2 separate regions of the Homo sapiens genome follow, and region 1 is linked to region 2. Evidence: promoter capture Hi-C in 16 types of primary human blood cells and fetal thymus (Javierre and others, 2016). All regions are on one chromosome and are shown on one strand. Each heading gives the region's core, a stretch centred on a gene start or on the middle of the fragment in contact. The rest is flanking DNA. Distances are from core to core; before and after follow the strand shown. Region 1 overlaps FHAD1 (forkhead associated phosphopeptide binding domain 1). Region 2 holds the start of CTRC (chymotrypsin C).

The links. The method cuts DNA at HindIII sites, captures the fragments that hold promoters and counts their contacts. A CHiCAGO score of 5 or more calls a contact.
Region 1: a contact is called between a fragment that was not itself captured here and the fragment with the promoter of CTRC in region 2, in 5 of 17 cell types (activated CD4 T cells, endothelial precursors, naive CD4 T cells and 2 more). The highest score is 10.2, in activated CD4 T cells.

Annotation. Positions count from the first base shown.
Region 1 is chr1:15,306,206-15,313,407 of GRCh38, forward strand. FHAD1 (forkhead associated phosphopeptide binding domain 1) reads left to right here. Exons shown (of 34, transcript NM_001391957.1): 7 at 2,408-2,531; 8 at 6,852-6,982. Among named protein-coding and RNA genes, the nearest start is that of FHAD1-AS1, 34 kb to the right of the region's middle. The HindIII fragment of the contact is 1,024 bases long and covers 2,334-3,357 here.
Region 2 is chr1:15,436,862-15,443,924 of GRCh38, forward strand. CTRC (chymotrypsin C) reads left to right here and starts at 1,582. Exons shown (of 8, transcript NM_007272.3): 1 at 1,582-1,643; 2 at 3,439-3,530; 3 at 3,632-3,729; 4 at 5,586-5,711; 5 at 6,558-6,694. The coding sequence starts at 1,604. The HindIII fragment of the contact is 3,491 bases long and covers 454-3,944 here.

The sequences.
Region 1 (7,202 bases), core at 1,596-4,095, 130 kb before region 2:
CTAAAGATTTGTGGAACTTTGAACTTGAGAGAGATAATTTAGTGTATCCAGCAGAAGAAATTTCTAAGCAGCAAAGCATTCAAAAGGTGACTTGGGTGCTGTTAAAAGCATTCCATTTTAAAAGGGAAACAGCATAAATTCAGAAAATTTGCAGCCTGATGATGGAGTAGAAAAGAAAAACCCATTTTCTGGGGGAGAAATTCAAGCCAGCTGCAGAAATTTGCATAAGTACCAAGGAGACTAATGTTAATCCCCAAGGCCATGGGGAAAATGTCTCCAGGACATGTCAGAGACCTTCACAGCAGCCCCTCCCATCACAGGCCCAGAGGCCCAGGAGGAAAAAGTGGTTTTGTGGGCCAGGCCCGGGGTCCCCATGCTGTGTGCAGCCTAGGGACTTGGTGCCCTATATCCCACCCACTCCAACCATGGCTAAAAGGGGCCAACATAGAGCTTGGGCTGTGGCTTCAGAGGGTGGAAGCCCCAAGCTTTTGCAGCTTCCACATGGTGTTGAGCCTGCAGGTGCACAGAAGTCAAGAATTGAGGTTTGGGAACCTCTGCTTAGATTTCAGAAGATGTGTGGAAATGCCTGGATGCCCATGCAGAAGTTTGCTGTGGGGTCGGGGCCCTCATGGAGAACCTTTGCTAGGGCAGTGTGGAAGGGAAATGTGGGGTCAGAGCCCCCACACAGAGTCCCTACTGGGGCATTGCCTAGTGGAGCTGTGAGAAGAGGGCCCCCGTCCTCCAGACCCCAGAATGGTAGATCCACCAATGGCTTGAATCGTACTCCTGGAAAAGCCGCAGACACTCAACGCCAGCCCATGAAAGCAGCTGGGAGAGAGGTTGTACCCTGCAAAGCCACAGGGATGGAGCTGCCCAAGACCATGGGAACCTACCTCTTGCATCAGCGTAATCTGGATGTGAGACCTGGAGTCAAAAGATCATTTTGGAGCTTTAAAGTTTGACTGCCCTGCTGGATTTCAGACTTTCATGGGCCCTGTAACCCCTTTGTTTTGGCCAATTTCTCCCATTTGGAATGGCTGTATTTACCCAATACCTGTACCCCCATTGTACCTAGGAAGTAACTAGCTTGCTTTTGATTTTACAGGCTCATAGGCGGGAAGGACTTGCCTTGTCTCAGATGAGACTTTGACTTTTGGGTTAATGCTGAAATGAGTTAAGACTTTGGGGGACTATTGGGAAGGCATGGTTGGTTTTGAAATGTGAGGACATGAGATTTGGAGGGGCCAGGGGCAGAATGATATGGTTTGGCTGTGTCTCCACCAAATCTCAACTTGAATTGTATCTCCCAGAGTTCCCACACATTGTGAGAGGGACACAGGGAGAGGTAATTGAATCATGGGGGCTGGTCTTTCTCATGCTGTTCTAGTTACAGGGAATAAGTCTCACAAGATCTGATGGGTTTATCAGGGGTTTCCACTTTTGCTTTTTCGTCATTTTCTCTTGCCGCTGCCATGATTCTGAGGCCTCCCCAGCCAGTGAAACTGTAATTCCAATTAAACCTCTTTCTCTTTTTTTTTTTTTGGAGACGGAGTCTCACTCTGTCACCCAGGTTGTAGTGCAGTGGCACGATCTCGGCTCACTGCAAGCTCTGCCTCCCGGGTTCACACCATTCTCCTGCCTCAGCCTCCCGAGTAGCTGGGACTACAGGTGCCCGCCACCACACCCAGCTAATTTTTTGTATTTTTAGTAGAGACAGGGTTTCACCGTGTTAGCCAAGATGGTCTTGATCTCCTGACCTCATGATCCACCCGCCTCAGCCTCCCAAAGTGCTGGGATTACAGGCGTGAGCCACTGCGCCCGGCCTAAACCTCTTTTTCTTCCCAGTCTCGGGTATGTCTTTATCACAGCGTGAAAACAGACTAATACGGGAGCATTCCCAGGAGCCTTCTGTGGAGAGGCCATGAGGCTCTGTTGAAGGAGTAGTGTCTGTGAGTGGGCTTTGTAGGTTCTAGAGTGTTCTGTGAGATATAACCTATTGTTATCATTTGAGGGAATTAATTTTATAACATGCTTCCCTCTCTTGAACTTTGCTCTGTATCCAGTCAGTACTGGGCGACCTGGAACCAACAGGTGATCTGTTTATGGCTGAGAGTCCAAAGGTCATCAGAAGGCACATTAAGAAACCAGGTGTCCCCAGTGGCAGCCAGGCCTGGGCCCCTTTATGGGCACAAAGATAAGGTTCATGTTTTGATGACATAGGAAGTGGTGGTCCTTGAAGGAACAGGCCCTCCCCTGTCCCTTCCACTGGTTAAAACTAAAAAGCTTGGTTTCCCCAACACCCCAGCCAAAACTCAATCTGAATCTTTCTGTCAAGCTTGTGAGAAGTACCTGTGTGTCTCCCAGACGTGGGCCAGCCCCCCTCTGACTGTGCCACCTCCTCCCACAGATCAGTGCCCTACAGAAAGGCTACAGCAAGGTGCTGTGCCAGACCCTGTCAGAGCGGAACTCAGAAATCACATCCCTGAAGAATGAGGGCGAGAACTTAAAGAGAGACAACGCTATCACATCAGGTGAGCCCTTGGAGTCGGGCCTGGGAGCTGCCACTCCCGCACCCGTTGTTCTTGGCCACAGCAGACATCACCAATCAACCACATACTTTTTGTTACTGAACTTGGCTGCAGCCTCAGAGTTCTTCCCAGCAGCCCTTTAGGCAGTTCCTGTCCATGAATCTGAGTTCACCCTCAGAGGTTTATGTGCCATCCAGTTCCTAGCATAGGGCCTGGTTTGGAGTGAGCCCTTGATAAATATTTGAGCAAATGTTATCTGTTAGCTAAAAGGCCTGCTGAGCATGGACCTCACCAGGGAACACACAGGACAAGCTGCAGCTCAGGCAGTCCCATGAGCCAGTTTGCTGTGAATGCAAACTAGAATGTGGCTAAAATGGGGTTGCCAGTTTAAGGCACCCAGCCTCTTACCCATCTCACACTGGTGCTCTTGGGCCGGAGCGAAAGCATTTTGCTAATTGAGAGGTAGCTGGATACTCAAGAACTTGGGTGGGCAAGGGGGCAGCCAACTCATGGCCCACCCTTGCCAGGCACAGCTGTTTCTTAGCCTGGATTCATTCATTCATTCATTCATTCAGCACATTTATGGAGCAGCTGCTAGATGCCAGGCACTGTTCTAGGCACTGGGGAGAGAGAGCCCTGAGCAGTCAAGATCCCTCTGCCCCTCTGCTCATGGGGCTCACACTTGGGAGAGGATGACAGACAATAAGAAGTAAAAAGATAAATGAACAAGCCCATACCAGAGAGAGATCAGTGCTCCAGAGGAAATAAAGCTGGACACCGTGGTGGGGAAGCACTCAGGGGGTGAAGTGAAGGAGAATAGCTTAGTGCAAGCTTGTCCAGCCCACGACCTGCGGGCCACATATGGCCCAGGACAGCTTTGAATGAGGCTCGACACAAATTCCTCAACTTTCCTAAAACATTATGAGATTTTTTTTTTTTAGCGATTTTTTTTTTTAGCTCATCAGTTATTATTAGCGTGAGTGTATTTTATGCGTGGCCCAAGACCCTTCTTCTTCTTCCAGTGTGGCTCAGGGAAGCCAAAAGATTGGACATCCCTGGCTTAGTGCCTGGGCAGGGATATCTCTGAGGAGGTGGGAGGGGCTGTCGGGAGGCCCCTGGGAACGGTATGCTGGGCAGAGAGCACAGGTGCAAAGGCCCCGAGGCTGGACCAAGCCACGGTGTTGGATCAACTGCCGGCGAGTGTGGCTGGAGTCAGGGAACAAGGGGCTATGGGACCTGGTGGGGTCAGGGGGGAGGCAGGGCCACATTACATGGGAGGGGTTCAGGTTTTCTTCTAAGTGTGATGGGACACGTTAGGGTTTTTAAGGCAGAGAATGGCATGTCTCGAGACCTGCAGATGATAGGGCCATGGACAGAGAAAGGGGGAAGAGAGAAAAGCAGGTGGTGGAGAGGGAATGAGTCCAGATTGGGCATATTGCTCCTAAAGTCCCCCCTGCACAGCAGGAAACATGCCCGTGGCTGTGAAAGCAGAGCGTAGCATTGAGTCAGACACAATCGCTGTCTCCGCAGGACCCAGGCCGCCTGGCCGTGGCTTTCCCTCTGCCTCACTCTGCAGTCCCCCTCCCCACTCCAGGCTTCTACCTCTGTTCTTCCCTAACATGGAATGTTCTTGGATACTTGTGAGCCCTATGGGCAGGGCTGCTCTGGGCACCAGGCATCCCAGGGGGATCTCGCTGGGCCCTGCCCTCCTCCCCAGCGTCTGTCCATCACACCCCATCCACGCTACAAGCCTGTCTCAGACACCACTCCTCTAATCAAGGAGTCAGACAGACCTGGGCTCAGGTATGGCCTGGGATGGGCTACACTCTCACGGCCCCAAGTGTGGTCCCTGGACCAGCAGCATCAGCATCACCTGGATCCTTGTGAGAAACTGGGAATTTCAGGCCCCACTCCTGACCTTCCGATCAGAATCTTCATTTTCACAAGCCTCCCGGCTGCTGCTTGTGCACACTTAAGCTCGAGAAGCACTGGGCCGGGTTACGCTGCAGTGACAAACAGTCCCCCAAGTCTCAGTGGCTCACAATAGACAGGTTCAGCTCCTGCTTCCACCCTGAGCCCATCATGGGTCAGTAGGGGCTTTGGTCATTGTGGCCACACAGTGACCCAGGCTCACAGAAGCCATCACAACACATCACAAACCCCATCTTCCACAGGAAGAGAGGCAGATGGAGGAACAAGGTGCGGATTTCCTCACCTGCCTGAAACAACTCAAACAAACAAACAAAAACCAAACAAACAGAAAAAAATGTCTGAAATAATGGTTTCCATCTATTGGCCCCAAGAAGCATGTGACGATGATCTGGGAGGGAGTGGAAACAAACAAGATGAAATCTACGATTGCCCCCGGCTGGCTTGCGCTGGAGAGAGTTTCCAGACCACAGCAGGGAGGGGAAGCCAGACAGAGCCCAGTGGTCAGCCCGACTTGAGGAGATGGAGGTGGAGAAGCCAGCACAGCTTGAGTTTGCTGGGTGGCGTGCCAGGCGGGAGGGGGCTGCACGGAGAGCACCCCGGAGATCTCAGAGGGTCCGCCTCAAGTCTTCAGCAGAGTCAGGTGTGATGAGCACGTGCATGTGGGCAGGGAAGGAACCACCCAGGAGGAGCAGAGGGAACCATCTCGAAGCCCACGTAGGCCTGAGAGTAGCTCACTTTCCCACCATCCAGAATGGGGCAACCTTGCACTACACAGGGCACCTGGTAGAGACTCAAGCCAAATTCATTCTAGAGAAAAGGTCACTCTGGTCCCGCCTCACAAAGCATGCAGGCAAGCCCCAGAGAGAGCAGTCTGTTTCTAAGGAACTTAACTGTGTCCCCGGACGAAGCTCATTTTTACAATGAAATTCTGAATCATGTTGTTCTTTATTACACATCCTTGATTGTGCAATAAAGATTGATTCTTGATTGATACCCACCAATAAAACTAGGATGAATGTTTTTCTAAGAAAAGGACCGTATGAGATAACCCAATACCACTGCATTATGCACCCTTCTTCTCACTTTTTCTCAATGTGATAATACAATAATATATTGACTATCTGCTGTCACATAAGTTATCCCAAAAAAGCAACAAATATGTTTATCTTACCCGGTTTCTGTGGTTCAGGAACTTGGGAGTGACTTAGTCTGGCTCAGGGTCTCTCACGAGGTTGCAGGAGCTACTGCTGTCATGTCATCTAAAGCCCGACTAGGGCTCGAGGATCCCCTTCTGGAATGACTCGCTCACATGGCTGTTGGCTGGAGGCCTCAGTTCCTCACCATGTGTGTCCTTCCCTAGGGCTGCTTGAGTGTCCTCACAACATGGCGGTTGGCTTTCCCCAGACTGAGTGATCCAAGGAGAGCAAAGAAGAAACCACAACATCTTTGATGATTCACCCTGGGAAGTCACATTCACCACTTCCACAGTGCCATATGAGTTACACACGTCAGCCCTATTCAGGTGGGAGGGGGCTACACGAGGCCAGGTATTCTAACAGGCAGGGATCATGGGGGCCATTTTGCAAGCTGGCTACCACATATACTTGTGGGTGGCAGGGAATAAACACTATGTGTTAGCCACTCTACTATGTTCTTTATACAACTCTGTAGATACAATGAGAGGTTAAATAACTTCTTCAGACCACTAAGCTAGGCTGGGCATTGTGGCTCACATCTGTAATCCCAGCACTTTGGGAGACAGAGGCTGGTGGATTGCTTCAGCCTGGGAGTTTGAGACCCGCCTGGGCAACATGGGCAAAACTCCATGTCTACAAAAAATACAAAAATTAGCCAGGCATAGTGGCACGTACCTGTAGTCCTAGCTACTTGGGAGGCCAAGGCAGGAGGATCGCCTGAGTCCAGGAGGTCGAGGCTGTAGTGAACCATGATCGTGCCACTGTACTCCAGCCTGGGTGACAGAGTAAGACCCTGTCTCAAGAAAAAAGACGACTGAGCTAGTAAGTGCTAGAGACGGTTTCCAAACTCAGATGAGTGTGAATCAACACGTCCCTTGCTGCCACAGGCCCATGTCGTGGCCCCTCCTGGTCCCTCTCTCTGCTGAGCCTTTGTTCCCAGGCAGGGCCGATGCCCACAGCACCCCGACAGATGTTTCCTGTCTCCAGCAACACGCACTGACTGACCTCTCCTTCTCACTGGGACCTTGAACAAATGATGTGCAGTGGATATTGGTCTCAACCCCATTCAAGCTCCTGGGATCCTTGGAGACACCTCCCTTCTCAGTGCCAGGCTCGTCACAAACTGGTTGACAGCGGCAGCGATGACAGTCATCCTCACTGCCTCTTTGACCTCTGCGAGTCTTCTTTTTTACAGGGATGGTGTCATCTTTGCAAAAAGACATATTAGCAAAGGATGAGCAAGTTCAACAACTAAAGGAAGAGGTCAGTCACCTAAAAAGTCAGAACAAGGACAAGGACCACCAGCTGGAAGCCCTTGGCTCTAGAGTGAGTAAGGATGACTGCGTCACCTTGTAGCCATCCGGTGAAAAGCAGCTAAAGTGAAGTCACGTGATATGCTTGTTTCATTCACCCTGGGCCCTTAGTTTAAATTTCATTCCTTCCTCTCACACCATTGTGCTGGGGGCGGGGTGGTGGGGGGGTGGGCGTTGGGGGCAAAACATGAAATGCCTACCTAGAAAAACTAAAACAGCTGGCCACATTCTTT
Region 2 (7,063 bases), core at 332-2,831:
ACCAGGCTGAGGCCAGGCCTTGGGGCGAATGGATCAAACCACATGTTCCAAGGGATGGCCAACCCCGAATGCCGGAGGCTCTGGTAGAATTTCTGCTACTCAGTGCTTTGGGCCCTCAGATCTGCCACTGACCTTGACATTCAAGTTACAGAATTGTAGAACTGAAAGGAGCCTGAAAGTCCATCTGGTCCTTTTGCCCATTTTAGAGATGGGGAAACTGAGGACCTACAACTAAGCTGACTCCAGGAAGGAATCTGGCCAACTAAGCACCTTCCAGAGCCTGCTGCATCCCTGCCTCCAACCACAGCCCTGGAGGCAGGTGCAGGAGTGCATCAAGCCCAGGCAATTAGAAAGATGAGACAGAGAGAGAGCCAGGAAGCGATCCAATAGCACTAGAAAGGCAGAGAAGGAGCAGCATGTCTCCACAGCTTGAAGCCCCAGGCTGGTGTTAGAAGCTTTGGCTTCAAAGTCTGGCTCTGCTGCTGCCCAGCCGTGTGACCCTAGATGGTCACTTACCCGCTGAGTCTCAGCTTCCTCACTTTTATTTTATTTTTTTAGAGACAAGGTCTTGTTCTGTCACCCGCGCTGGAATGCAGTGTGGCACGATCACGGCTCACTGCAGCCTCGAACTCCTGGGCTCAAGCGATCCTCCTACCTTGGCCTCAGGAGTAGCTGGGACTACAGGCATGCACCACTGCGCCTGGTCCTTTCTCATCTCACCTCAGAGCAGATAACCGCGTCTATTTCATGTTGTTGGAAGAATTAAGTGAGATAATGCAAGAAGAATTGAGCGCAATGCCTGACACACAGTAGGTGCCCAATAAATAACTAAAAAGAATAAGGTAACGGCCTGTAATCACACCTGTAATCCTAGCACTTTGGGAGGCTGAGGTAGGCAGATTGCCTAAGCTCAGGAGTTCAAGACCACCCTAGGCAACAGGGTGAAACCCTGTCTCTACTAAAATACAAAAAAAAAAAAAAAAAAAAAATGGTGGCACACATCTGTAGTCCCAGCTACTTGGGAGGCTGAGACAGGAGAATCGCTTGAACTCGGGAGGCGGAGGTTGTAGTGAGCTGAGACTCCAGCCTGGGTGACAGAGCAAGATCCTGTCTCAAAAAAATAAATAAAATACAAAAGATTAACCTGGCGTGGTGGCAGGCGCCTGTAGTCCCAGCTACACAGGGGGCTAAGGCACGAGAATCGTTTGAGCCCGGGAGGTGGAGGTTGCAGTGAGCTGAGACTGTGCCACTGCATTTCAGCCTGGGCAACAGAGCAAGACTCCATCTCCAAATAAATAAATAAATAGTATAAGGTAGGGAGAGAGAATGAACACACACGTCAAACAGAGTGGGGTGGGGGATGCCAAAAAGCACTGCAACTCAGAATTTTCTGTTTCAGGATATTTGGAAAATCCATACTTCTAAGAAAGCCCTGTCTCCTGCCCAAATTAAACAGTAACCACCCAAGGTCAGGGAAAGGGCCTTATCAGAGCAGGTTTCTCTCCAAGGGGCGGTTTGGCCTTGACCAGGTGCACTCACCTGCTCCTGCCTATAAGTGTGCCCCAGCCCATCCCGATGGTCAGCCAGTCCTGAGCACCTAACCATGTTGGGCATCACTGTCCTCGCTGCGCTCTTGGCCTGTGGTAAGCGGTGGGGTGGGGCTGCAGCTAGCAGGCTGTGAGCTCGGGCTGGCCTCCAGGGCAAGGACGGGATGGGGAGTGGGGGGGCCTCTGCTCTCCAGGTAAGACACTTTGGGGTCCCCTGTGGGTTCAGATGCTACCAACCAGCTGTGTGTCAGACAAGCCACAGCCTGCCTGCCAACTCTGTTTCCACATCTGCAAAACAGGGAAGATGATCTGACGTGTCCCCAGTTAGAAATGAGGTGTGGAAAGCACCACGCAAGGGGGAGGGACACGAGATGCCTCATCCTGGGTTCACCCCAGGGACCATCGGGGTCTGCCTTTCCCAGCATTCTCTCTCCCTTGAGGATTCTCCATTCCATCATTTTGGTGGCGTTTTCCCAGATTAGGAGCCCAGGGACTTAGCTTAAATGCCACTTCTTCTCTGCAGGACCTGGAAAAGTCATTTCACCTCTCTAAATCTCACTAACTTTTTTGGCAAAGGAGAGCACTTAATGAAGAGTCCTTCCAGCTAACAACAACAACAGTAATAATAGCAGCTCCTGTTTCCTGTGTGTTTACTATGTGCCAGACGCTATGCTAGGCCCCTTACATGTAGGAGCCAATTTAATCCTCAAAACAACCTTAAGAGGTAGGGTCTATTGCCAGGCATGGTGGCTCACGCCTGTAATCCCAGCACTTTGGGAGGCCGAGGTGGGTGGATCACTTGAGATCAGGAGTTTGAGACCAGTCTGGCCAACAAGATGAAACCCCGTTTCTACTAAAAATACAAAAATTAGCCAGGCGTGGTGGCGGGCACCTGTAATCCCAACTACTCAGAAGGCTGAGGCAGGAGAATTGCTTGAACCCAGGAGGAGGTTGCAGTGAGCCGAGATCGCGCCATCAAACTCCAGCCTGGGCAACAAGAGTGAAACTCCGTCTCAAAAAAAAAAAAAAAAGAAAAAGAAAGAAAAAGAGGTAGGGTCTTTTCATAGCCCCATTTTACAGATGAGGACATCGAGGTTCCGTGCGACTTAGTATCTTGCCTGACATCACATGGCAGGTTAGTGGAAGAGGCAGAATTTGAGTCCACGTCTGTCTCGCGGAACAGCACGTGTTCTTGACCGCTCCACACAGCTTCCCAGCTATAACAGTGGATTTACTGCTCTCTCACACACACACCATGATGCAGGGGCCTAAAAACAGACAGAAGAACACAGGTGTACCGGGCACTCGCACACATGCCAGCCAGTTTTGTTTTGTTTTGTTTTGTTTTTTGAGATGGAGTTTTGCTCTTATCACCCAGGATGGAGTGCAATGGCACGATCTCGGCTCACTGCAACCTCCATCTCCCAGGCTCAAGCGATTCTCCTGCCTCAGCCTCCTGAGTGGCTGGGATTACAGGCATGCACCACCACGCCTGGCTAATTTCTGTATTTTTAGTAGAGACAGGGTTTCGCCATGTTGGCCAGGCTGGTGTCAAACCCCTGATCTCAAGCGATCCACCCGCCTTGGCCACCCAAAGTGCTGGGATTACAGGTGTGAGCCACCGTGCCCGGCCAAACGCTTTCTTTTTTATGTGTTGTCTAATTCAGTTCTCAGGGCAAACTCACCGCATTAGTGTGATTCTTCACATTTCACAGAAAGGGAAAACAAGGCCTAGAGACCTGGGTGGCTTACCCCCGTGACACAGTAAAATATCAACCCCGTGTCTGCCCAGCCCCAACTCTGTGCTTCTTCCACCTGCCCACCCTCCCACCCCTTTCCCCGTGGGCTACCAGCCCTATTCACTGGTTCTTCTGGCCTCCTGTCTCCCCAGCCTCCAGCTGTGGGGTGCCCAGCTTCCCGCCCAACCTATCCGCCCGAGTGGTGGGAGGAGAGGATGCCCGGCCCCACAGCTGGCCCTGGCAGGTAAGCCTGTGTAGGGCTGGGAGGTACAGATAGAGAGGGTGGCGGGGTGAGGGTCCCAGGGACCTGCAGGCTGACACACAGCCCTCCCCACCCTCCTGCAGATCTCCCTCCAGTACCTCAAGAACGACACGTGGAGGCATACGTGTGGCGGGACTTTGATTGCTAGCAACTTCGTCCTCACTGCCGCCCACTGCATCAGGTGTGCGGGGATGATACCCTGAGACCTGGCCATCGTCCGGGGGCGGAAGCCTGATACTCTGCTTTTTCTGAGCAGCTTCTCCGCACTCCAGGCACTGGGCTACATAATCTACTCACACCCAGTAACTCAGTTGTGCATTTAGTCAGTCAAGTATTCATTGTGCATCTATTATGTGCCAGGAACCAGCAGTGAAGACAAAGTCTGTGCTCTCGGGAAGCTTATATTTTTGTGGAAGACAGAGCGGCAGACAATTAAACAAATATATAGCATCTCAGGTGATTTAAAATAATACTAATAATAAGGTATTGGCCAGGAGCAGTGGCTCACGCCTGTAATCATAGCACTCTGGGAGGCCGACGCAGGCGGATCACCTGAGGTCAGGAGTTCGAGACCAGCCTGGTCAACATAGTGAAACCCCGTCTCTACCGAAAATACAAAAATTAGCCAGGCGTGGTGGCGGGCACCTGTAATCCCAGCTACTCGGGAGGCTGAGGTAGGAGAATCACTTGAACACGGGAGGCAGAGGTTGCAATGAGCCGAGATGGCGCCACTGCACTCTAGCCTGGGCAACAGAGTGAGACTCTGTCTCAAAAAAATAAAAAATAAAAATAAGGTCAGAAGAGGACAAACAGAATGAGGGGTTCAGTTTTAAAAGGGATGGCCAGGGGAAGAGCTGAAAGGGGGATATTTGGCAAATATTTGGGACATTTCGGAGAGCTAAAAGGGGGTTATTTGGGCAAAGGCCTGAAGGAAGTGAGGGAGGAAATCATGGATCTAGGAGAAGGGTGTTCCAGGCGGAGGGAACAGCCATGCAAAGCCTTGGAGGAGAGACCTGTCAGTATGGTTGAGAAATAACGCGGAAGCCGGTGTGGCAGGGGCAGCGTGTGCTAGAGGAGAGTGGGAGGTGAGCTAGAGAGGAAATAAGTGCAGGTCAGTATCAGGACCTTGGCTTTGACCCTGAGTAAGATGGAGCTATTGGAAGGGTTTCTGAGCAAAGGAGAGTTGTGGGCTGACATATTTTTATATATTCCATAAAATATTTTTAATATATTTTATAAAAAATATATATTGCAACATATTTCATTTTATATATTTCATATACACTTTTTTTTTTTTTGGTAGAGACAGAGTCTCATTTAGTGGTACCATCATGGTTCACTGTAGCCTTGACCTCCTGAGCTCAAGCAATCCTCCCACCTTAGCCTCCCGAGTAGCTGGGTCTATAAGCACACGCCACCACGCATTCCCAGCTAATTTTTCTTCTTGTTTTTTGTTTGTTTGTTTGTTTTTTAACTTAGAAGCCCAAACCTCACCATAAGTTTTCTATTTTTTGTAGAGATGGGGATTTGCCATGTGGCTCAGGCTGGTCTCAAACTCCTGGCCTCAAGCAATCCCCCCGTCTCGGCTTCCCAACGTGCTGGGATTACAGGCATGAGCCAACGCACCTGGCCGGAGATATTTTTAAACCCACACTGCTGGGTTCAGAATAGACAGGAGTAGGCCAGCGTACAAGTGAGAGATAGTTAGATGGATGCCGCAACTGTGCAGGCAAGGGCGGTGGAAGCTTGGATGAGTTTATTCTCACAGCCGCCCTGGGAGTAAGTTCCAGCATTGCCTCCCCCTTACAGATGAGGGAACTGAGGCACAAGGCTACACAGCCAGGAGCAGCAAAGTCACAACATGAACCCAAGTCCCTTGACCCCAAGTCCCAGGCCCTTCCCCTCACCCTGGGAAAGGACAATGGGAACACTCTCTTCCCCCAAAATGAGTCCCACTAAAGCCCCGAGCTCCCTCTCTATCCCACTGGCTGGCAGGACCAGGGGGCCACCCTGACCTGGACCCCTTCCTCTGCCCAGCAACACCCGGACCTACCGTGTGGCCGTGGGAAAGAACAACCTGGAGGTGGAAGACGAAGAAGGATCCCTGTTTGTGGGTGTGGACACCATCCACGTCCACAAGAGATGGAATGCCCTCCTGTTGCGGTGAGTGACAGACTGCCCATCCCACAGCCACTGGGGGCAGTGTGGAAGGAGGGGTCCCCAAGACGGAGCCGCAGAGCCTGTCGCACCCCATACCTGACACCCCATCCTCACCCTGGAAAGCCAGCAAATGACTGTCTTACACAAAATGGCAAAATGCTAAGTGGAGACAAATACCCCCTCATATCCCCCTCATTGGCCAAGACTCCCAGGAAAGTCCACAAGGAAGGCCCCCCACAGTGTCTCTCCAGAGGCTGGGCCAGCGCTCACCTTTATTGAGTTCCTACTGTATGCCCACATTGCAATAGACACTTTATATGCCATCTGTTATGTAATCCTCACAACAGCCCTGGACAAAGAACCAAGGCTCAGAGAGGTTAAGAACTGTGTCCCAGGCCACACAGCCCACTTCGTGGCAGAACTAGGAATCAAACCAGGTCTGACTGGGCCGGCCAGCTTTTATTCTTGTAACATGAAAATATTAAAACTGGCATCTGCAAGTGCCGTCTTTTGGCATTAGAGTTCTCAACTTGCTATAGCCTCTGTTTCAATGGACCCACAGCCAGCAGTGGTTTCGGACACTTCCACTCTCACCTCCCTCTGTTAACCCTTTCCCGAGGTGATGACATGTGAGAAGAAGCTATGTCAACAGTGCGGGTGATCATGTTAGATGGTGAATCGTTTGTCCTGATATTCCCAAAGGCCAAGAAGAAGCTGGCAGTCAGGATGTTTGTGAAGGACCCCTGAGCACCCTGGGCCTGACTCCCAACTCACAGCCCGAGCCCCTTAGCCTGAGCTTGTGGGGCCAGGGCCCTCCTGCCCACTCACCCTCTCCACTTTGGATTCCAGCAATGATATTGCCCTCATCAAGCTTGCAGAGCATGTGGAGCTGAGTGACACCATCCAGGTGGCCTGCCTGCCAGAGAAGGACTCCCTGCTCCCCAAGGACTACCCCTGCTATGTCACCGGCTGGGGCCGCCTCTGGAGTGAGTATCGTCCCTGGCAAATCCTGAGAGCCTTCCTGAAGGAAGCAGGACGTCACCCACATTTGTCCACCACTTTGCCTTTTTGCCTTCACATTTTCATGTCTTTGTAAACTTTGTAACAATAACAGCTAATATTTACTAAGCACATACCATGTGACAGACACTCTAGCAAGGGTCTCTGAGAGATGTGGTAAAGTTTAGACGAATTAGAATTTGTCAAGTGCTCAGAACAGCACTTGGCACATAGTAAGTGTCACATAAATAAACTAAAATAAACCATTAGGGGTAGGGGATGACATCTGTGGTATACCGTATGCCCAAATAGGTCCCAGCTGAATTAAAAGTTAAATGCAAATCATGAAACTATGG